2 separate regions of the Homo sapiens genome follow, and region 1 is linked to region 2. The links are contacts of gene promoters, found by promoter capture Hi-C in blood cells and fetal thymus (Javierre and others, 2016). All regions are on one chromosome and are shown on one strand. The core of a region is centred on a gene start or on the middle of the fragment in contact, and the rest is flanking DNA. Distances in the headings are between cores, read along the strand shown. Region 1 overlaps LOC124904746 (a long non-coding RNA gene). Region 2 holds the start of KLK6 (kallikrein related peptidase 6).

The links. Contacts are between HindIII fragments. The CHiCAGO score rates a contact against its expected background, and 5 or more counts as called.
Region 1: a fragment that was not itself captured here is called in contact with the fragment with the promoter of KLK6 in region 2 in 2 of 17 cell types (M0 macrophages and total B cells); the score reaches 7.6 in M0 macrophages.

The regions. Positions count from the first base shown.
Region 1 is chr19:50,180,800-50,184,508 of GRCh38, forward strand. The region is part of intron 1 of LOC124904746 (a long non-coding RNA gene); the gene reads right to left. Among named protein-coding and RNA genes, the nearest start is that of IZUMO2, 19 kb to the left of the region's middle. The HindIII fragment of the contact is 446 bases long and covers 1,652-2,097 here.
Region 2 is chr19:50,968,334-50,972,375 of GRCh38, forward strand. It overlaps KLK6 (kallikrein related peptidase 6), which reads right to left and starts at 1,258. Exons shown (of 7, transcript NM_002774.4): 1 at 1,157-1,258; 2 at 208-258. LOC105372442 (a long non-coding RNA gene) reads left to right here. Exons shown (of 7, transcript XR_007067308.1): 4 at 1-20. The HindIII fragment of the contact is 4,765 bases long and covers 1-4,042 here.

The DNA of each region.
Region 1 (3,709 bases), core at 625-3,124, 790 kb before region 2:
TATGTTGCCCAGGCCGGTCTTGAACTCCTGGCCTCAAGCAATTCTCCTGCGTTGGCCTCCCAAAGTGCTGGGATTACAGGCACGAGCCACCGTGCAATCTATACAATCTGGATTTTACCAAGTCCTAGAGGTGGTTTCAGCTTTGCTCAAGTTTAAGCAGCTCCAGCTTTGCTGCTTAAAATGTGGTCCATGAAGTAGCAGCATCAGCATCACCTGGAGTTTATATTAAAAATACAGAACCTCCACCCCACCCTGGACCTGCTGAATCAGAATTTTAAGATCCCTCACAACATTAACTGCGGGAGGGATGCTGTGTCCTTGATGCATGACATCAAGAGGTCTCTGATGTCAGCAGGTCCCACAACGGGTGATACTAACTTTGATCCCATGCTTAAGATGCTGTCTACCCAGTTTCTCCTCTGTAAAGTTACTCTTTCTCACACAGAGCTCATTTGATGGCTTTTACCAACGCACATTTTTAGAGCATATGAAACTGTGAGAATCCCTGATCTAGAGAGTATTGCTCAATAACCATAGGTGTAATGACCCATGTTTGTAATAACAGCCCTGAGTCAAGGAAAGAGCTGATTAATTACGGCATCTGTGGGAGGTAATTTAGCTTAATGGGTAAGAGTTCAGACTTGGAGGCACCAAATTAGGGACGCAGGTAGCCAAAGCGCAGAGGTTTAAAACTTCTACCTTCACTGTACTTTTGTTTCCTATTCTCAGTATTCAGCTCCTTACTATGTTCTCTCTATCCCCCTGTTGCCTTGTTTTGTTGTATTTTTTTTGAAACAGGGTCTCTCTCTGTCACCCAGGCTGCAGTGCAGTGGCGCGATCTTGGCTCACTGCAACCTCTGCCTCCTGGGTTCAAGTGATTCTCCTGTCTCAGCCTCCCAAATAGTTGGGATTACGGGCATGTGCCACCACACCTGGCTAATTTTTGTAGTTTTGTAGTAGAGATGGGGTTTCACTATGTTGGCCAGGCTGGTCTCGAACTCCTGACCTCAGGTGATCCACCCTCCAGGGTCTTTCTCTGTTGCCCACGCTGCAGTGCAGTGGTGCAATCATAGCTCACTGCAGCCTTGAACTCCTGGGCTCATGCGATCCTCCTGCCTCAGCCTCCAGAGTAGTTGGGACTACAGGCATGTGCTACCATGCCCGGCTAACTTTTTGATTCTCGGTAGAGACAGGAGTAGAGGCTGGCCTCGAACTCCTGACCTCAAATGATCCGCCCGCCTTAGCCACCCAAAGTGCTGGGATTACAGGCATGAGCCATTACGCTCAGCCTTGTTCAGCATTTTTAAAAGCTTCACTGCCTGCCCAGCGTGATGGCTCACACCTGTAATCCCAGCACTTTGGGAGGCCGAGTGGGGCAGATCATGAGGTCAGCGATTTGAGACCAGCCTGACCAACATGGTGAAACCCCGTCTCTACTAAAAATACAAAAACCAGCCAAGTGTGGTGGCAGGCACCTGTAGTCCCAGCTACTTGGGAAGCTGAGGCAGGAGAATCGCTTGAACCCGGGGTGGGGGGGCAGAGGTTGCAGTGAGCTGAGATCGTGCCACTGCACTCTAGCCTGGTGACAGAGCGAGACACCATCTAAAAAATAAAAATAAATAAAAATAAAATAAATAAATAAATAAATAAAAGCTTCACCGCCTGACATTATGTCAAACATTTTATTGTTTACTTGTTCATTGTCTCTTCCATGAGAAGTTGAGATCCAGGAGGACAGACACTCTGGCTTGTCTATGGGGGTATTCTCAGTTCACAGCACAGTGCCCAGCATACGGTAGGTGCTTAAAAAATTGTGTTGAATTTTTAAAAATGTGAGCACTGGAATCAGACTCACATGAGTTCAAATCCCAGCTCTGCCCCTTACTTATCTGTCTCTAAGTCTGTTTCTGTGTTGGTGAAATTGAGATAATGGTGCTGAAAGGGTTAAAGAAATATGATGCATGTGAAGGTTTTGCCATATATGGCTTTTGAAAACCTTTTTATTTTGAAATAATTTCAGACTTAACAAAAAAGTTGCAAAAATAATGCAAAGAATTCTCATACAAAATAATGCAAAGAATTCTCACTCTTCACCCAAGCTTCTCCAAAGGTTGAAACTTTTCATAACCACAGTAAAATATTATGAAATAAACATGGTAACATTTCTGTGGACTAATCTACGAACCCTTTCCCTCCCTCCCTCCCTCCCTCCCTCCCTTCCTTCTTTCCTTCCTTCCTTCCTTCCTTCCTCCTCCTTCCCCTCCTTCCCTCCCTCCTTCCCTTCTTTCTCTCTCTCTTTCTCTTTCTTTCCCTCCCCTCCCTTCCCCTCCCCTCCCCTCCCTTCCCTTCCTTCCTTCCTTCCTTCTTTCCTTCCTTCCATCCTTCCTTCCTTCCTTCCTTCCGACAGAGTCTCACTGTGTTGCCCAGGCTGGAGTGTGGTGGCACAGTCACAGCCACTGCAGGCTTGACCTCCCAGGCTCAAGCAATCCTTGAGCCAAGACCTGGGTCACCTACTGATTTCTTTTTGTTACAGGCGTGTGCCACCATGTCTGGCAATTTTTTTTTTTTAATTTTGTAGAGATAGGGGTCTCTCGGCTGGGCGTGGTGGCTCGTGCCTGTAATCCCAGCACTTTGGGAAGCCGAGGCAGGCAGATCACCTGAGGTCAGGAGTTCGAGACCAGCCTTGCCAACATGGTGAAACCCTGTCTCTACTAAAAATACAAAAATTAGCCGGGCGTGGTGGCACGTGCCTGTAATCCCTGCTACTCCGGAGGCTGAGGCAGGAGAATCGCTTGAACCCAGGAAGCGGAGTTTGCTGTGAGCCAAGATCATGCCACTGCACTCCAGCCTGGGCGACAGAAAAAGACTCCGTCTCAAAAATACAAAAATTAGCCGGGCGTGGTGGTGGGCGCCTGTAATCCCAGCTACTTGGGAGGCTGAGGCAGGAGAATCGCTTGAACCCGGGAGGTGGAGGTTGCGGTGAGCCGAGACTGTGCCACTGCACTCCAGCTTGGGCAACAAGAGCAAAACCTCGTCTCAAAAAAAAAATAATAATAATAAATAAAAATAAAGAGAGAAATGACTGATTCATATAACAACATGGATGAATATCAAAAGCTTTACGTGGAGTGAAAGAAACACAAAAGATCATCTACTATAGGATTCTATTTATAAAAAGCTCTAGAACAGACAAAACTAATCTGTGGTGATAAAAAGCAGAACATTAGTTGCCTGGGGGTGGGTGGAGGTGCGAGTTGGCTGGGGAGAGTGTCAGGTAACTTTCTAGGACATGGAAATGTTCTATTTTTTTCTAGTTGGGTGTATACGTTTGTCAAAACTCATTGAATGGTATACTTAGCAATTGTACATTTAACTGTCTGTAAATTTTACCTAAATAAAAGGAACCCTAAACAAATATTGAAATTGAATTAATGATGTGTGCAATGAAGTGTTTATGGCTGAAGCCTACTGACGTCTGCAGATTATTCTAATGAATGGATAAGCTGCAGTTTCTCAACTCCAGCACTATTGACATTTGAGGCCAGAGAATTATTTGTTGTGGGAGGCTGTCCTGTGCATTGTAGGATGTGGTTGACATCCTGGCCTCTACCCACTAAATGCCAGCAGCACTCCCACACACACAGGTTGACAGTAATAAATGTTTCCAGACATTGCCAATGTCCCTGGGGGGACAAATTTGTCCTTGGTT
Region 2 (4,042 bases), core at 8-2,507:
CACTGGTCCAGTAACCCATGGTGAGATTCTGATTAGATCTTTCTACTTTCTTGGGCACTGATTTGCCTTCCTGTCGACAGGAGAGGGTTACCCTAGGGGGCCCTAGCGTTCTTCCTCTGTATGGGAGTTTTCCTCGGAGCCTGGCTCTGTGCGCAATGGCCACCCACCCCGCCCACCCGGCAGGTTCTGTGATGTCTGTGATCTCACCTGCTGCAGGCCTCCGGGCTCCGGGGATTCTTGAGTCGGGGGAAGGAACAGCTTTGAGACGAGGAGGCAGAAAGAGTTAGAAATGCGGGGAGCCGTGAGGAGAGAAGACACTCAGATGCAGTGGCAGAGCCAAGCGGAGGACGCAGGGGCCGCAGAGCCCAGGGCTGCAGGGACTGCCAGACACACACCCCCAGCTCCCAGGCCTCCCTGGAAGAGGCTGGTTCTGTCCCCAGATGCTTCTGGAACGTCCTTTTAACCCCTGTCTCTCAGGTCCCTGAGCCAGGAGACTGGCTACACCCTTTTCCTCCTTACCCAGGCCTCCCACACACATTCCTCCCGCCCCCACGCTCTGCTCTTGGTGACCCCTGACCAGGCCTCCAGGGAAGGGAGCACTGGTCCCTGAGTGCAGTGAGGGCCTGGACTCCTGGGTCTGAGGGAGGAGGGGCTTGGGGGCCTGGACTCCTGAGTCTGAGGGAGGAGGGGCTGGGGGCCTGGACCCTTGCGTCTGAGGGAGGAGGGGCTTGGGGCCTGGACTCCTGGGTCTGAGGGAGGAGGTGAGAACTTGGACTCCTGGGTCTGAGGGAGGAGGGGCTGGGGGCCTGGACTCCTGAGTCTGAGGGAGGAGGTGGGAACTTGGACTCCTGGGTCTGAGGGAGGAGGGGCTAGGACCTAAACTCCTGGGTCTGAGGGAGGAGGGGCTGGGGCCTGAATCTGAGGCAGAGGAAGTTCTAGTCGGCTCAGTCCTTAGACCTCCGGGTTTTGGAGAAAGAAAGTGTCTGAAGACAAATTCCGGCCTCTGGGGCAAGCAGATGGTGCCCCAGGCCTCCCTGCACCCCCAGCACTCTCTGTGCCACCCAGGGACCTGCAGGCCCTCACTCCGGGCTCTAGAGCCCTCCGGCACTGGGAAGCAGCCTGCCCAGGTTCAGTGCGGTTGGGGTGACTCACACACCTGCCCGTAGGTCCCTCTGTGTGCTGCCTGCCGACCTCTGTGTCCCCAGGAGAGAGCGAGCCAGCCAGCCGGGGAGACAGCTACAGCGTGTGTCACCACACTGGCCCCCGCCCCTGCCCCGGGCTGGGGAGCAGGCCCAGGCGCGATGGGGAAAGGGCCCAGGAACAATCGGGCTTTGTCCGCCCCCAGCACCCCAGTGCCATGCTCCCAGCAGCTCCGGCCTCAACCTCTCTTCCGGCGGGCAGGCGGGAGGGCGGTTACATCAATGGCTTCCTTTTGTCCCTGTCTGACAGTCCTCCTTTGCAGTCTCTGACTGCCCACCTGGCCCTGACTGGAGATTTCGGCACTCCACATCCTCCTGGTCCTTCTCCTCCAAGTCTGCCCACCCCTGAGGTCTCTTGCTCCATCTGTCTCCCTGGCCATGGAGGGGAGGGAGCTTCCATCTCTCTCTCTCTCCCATCTCAGTCTCTGTATTTGTGTCTCTCTCCCTCTTTTTTTCTCTCTCTCCCTTCCTCTCTCCCTTCCTCTCTCCCTTCCTCCCTTCCTTCCTTCCTTCTTTCTTTCCTTCCTTCTTTTCTTTCTTTCTTTCTTTTTTTTTGACGGAGTCTTGCTCTGTCACTCAGGCTGGAGTGCAGTGGTGTGATCTCAGTTCACTGCAACCTCCGCCTCCTGAGTTCAAGCAGTTCTCCTGCCTCAGCTTCCCAAGTAGCTGGGATTACAGGCACCCACCACCACGCCCGGCTAAATGTTTTTTGTATTTTTAGTAGGGAAGAGGTTTCACCATGTTGGCCAGGCTGGTCTCAAACTCCTGACCTCAGGTGATCCACCCACCTTGGCCTCCCAAAGTGCTGGATTACAGGTGTGAGCCACTGTGCCCGGCCTCTCTCCCTTTCTTTCCCCTTGATTCTCTGACTCTCCGTGCTTATCTTCTCCTGGGTCTCTTCTTAGATTTCCCCGGGGGTAGCACTGTGTGTGCCCAGAAGGGAGTCAGTTTCCCCAGGAAGTAGCGGGGATGATTCCCGAGCGATGAGGAAGCTAGCAGGATGGAAGAGGACTTGAGGACTTATTGATGAGATGCGGACACACAGCGAGAGGCATGGAGTTAAGCAGAAATCGGAGAGCACTTGGGAACGACGTGGGGCTGTGATAAGATGGTGGTGCTGGGCAGTAGCAGAGGGATCTGGGAAGATTTAGGGAGGTGTCTTTGAACTTGGGCCTAGAAAGCTGAGCCAGGCGTAGGTCAGGAGGAAAGGCCGTGAAAATGCCTGGCCTGGGTGCACATGGGAAACCACAGGCAGTGGTTGGGGTGGTTGGTATGGGCTGGAGGGTGAGGGTGTGTGCGTGGCAGAGTGGAGAGAAATGAGGAGGGGGAAGTCACTGCGTAATAAGGACAATGATAGGAATGAAGTCTGGCTCAGCACCTGCTTGGGCTGGGCACTACAGGTAACTTAAAAAAAAAAGTTCTTTTTTCTTTTGAGACAAGGTCTTGTTCTGTCGCCTAGGCTGGAGTGCAGTGGCACGATCCTTGCTCGTGGCAGCCTCAACCCTCCTGGGCTCAAGCGACCCTCCCGCCTCAGTCTTCCCAGGAGCTGGGACCATAGGCATGAGCCACTGTTCCCAGCCAACCCTTTTCTTTGTCTTGCATTGAATCTAATTGTCATCTTGCATTGTGCACCCCCCATCACTCCAGGGATGAAGACTACTTCGGTATTCAGTATACTCTCCGGGTGCTCCCTCTCACATTTGGTCCCCACTGACCTCAGCACCTTCTTCTCAGGACGTGCTATCTTCACAGACAGCAAGTCTGATGTTGCACAACCCAGTGACCAGGCCCTATCCCTCTGCCTCCTCTCTCTGGGGGGTCCCTTCCTCTCTGTACCCACACCCTCAACCCCAACTCAGAGCTGCACCTCTCCCACCTGGACCAGGATCCCTCTGTTCTCTGTATCCCTTGCCCCAGAGAGACCTTCCTGTGCCTTGTGCTGACCTTGCCCCTCCTCTCACAGACGTGCCCTGGGTCCCCATCTCCCTTGGGACCAAGTCCCAGCCCCCCAGCCTGGCATTTGAGGACCTTTAGCATCCAGGGAAGTCCTGGCCAATGAAATGTGATGCCAAGCACGCATGCACATTTACATTTTCCAATCACCATACTTTTTTTTTTAAGTCAGAAGATTTTTTAAGTGTCCTTACCACAAAAAATAAGGGTGTAAAATAATGCATATGTTAAATAGCTTGGTTTAGCCATTCCACAACATATACATACATATATCAAACATGATGTTATACACCAGAAATATATACAATTTTTACTTGTCAATTAAAAAATAAATTTAAGGCCAGGCATGGTGGCTCATGTCTGTAATCCCAGCACTTTGAGAGGCCAAGGTGGGTAGATAGCTTGAGTCCGGAAGTTCATGACCAGCCTGGGCAACATAGTGAGAAACCATCTCTGCAAAAAGTAAAAAAATTAGCCAGATGTGGTGGTGCACACTTGTAGTCCCAGCTACTCCGGAGGCTGAGGCGGGAGAATTGCTGAGCCTGGGAGGTCGAGCCTGCAGTGAGCTGTGACTATACCACTGCACCCCAGCCTGACATGGCTGGGCAAGGTGGCTCATGCCTGTAATCCAAGCACTTTGGGAGGCAGAGGTGGGAAGATCACTTGAGCCTAGGAGTTCGAGACCAGCCTGGACAATATAGTGAGACCCTATCTCTAAAAAAAAAAACAAAAAAAAGAAAAGAAAAAAATTACCTAGGTGTGGTGGCACACATCTGTGGTCCCAGCTATGCAGAAGGCTGAGGTGGGATAGTTGCTTGAGCCTGGAGGCCCAGGTTGCAGTAAGCCATAATCACGCCACTGCACTTCAGTGTGACAGAGCCAGACCCTGT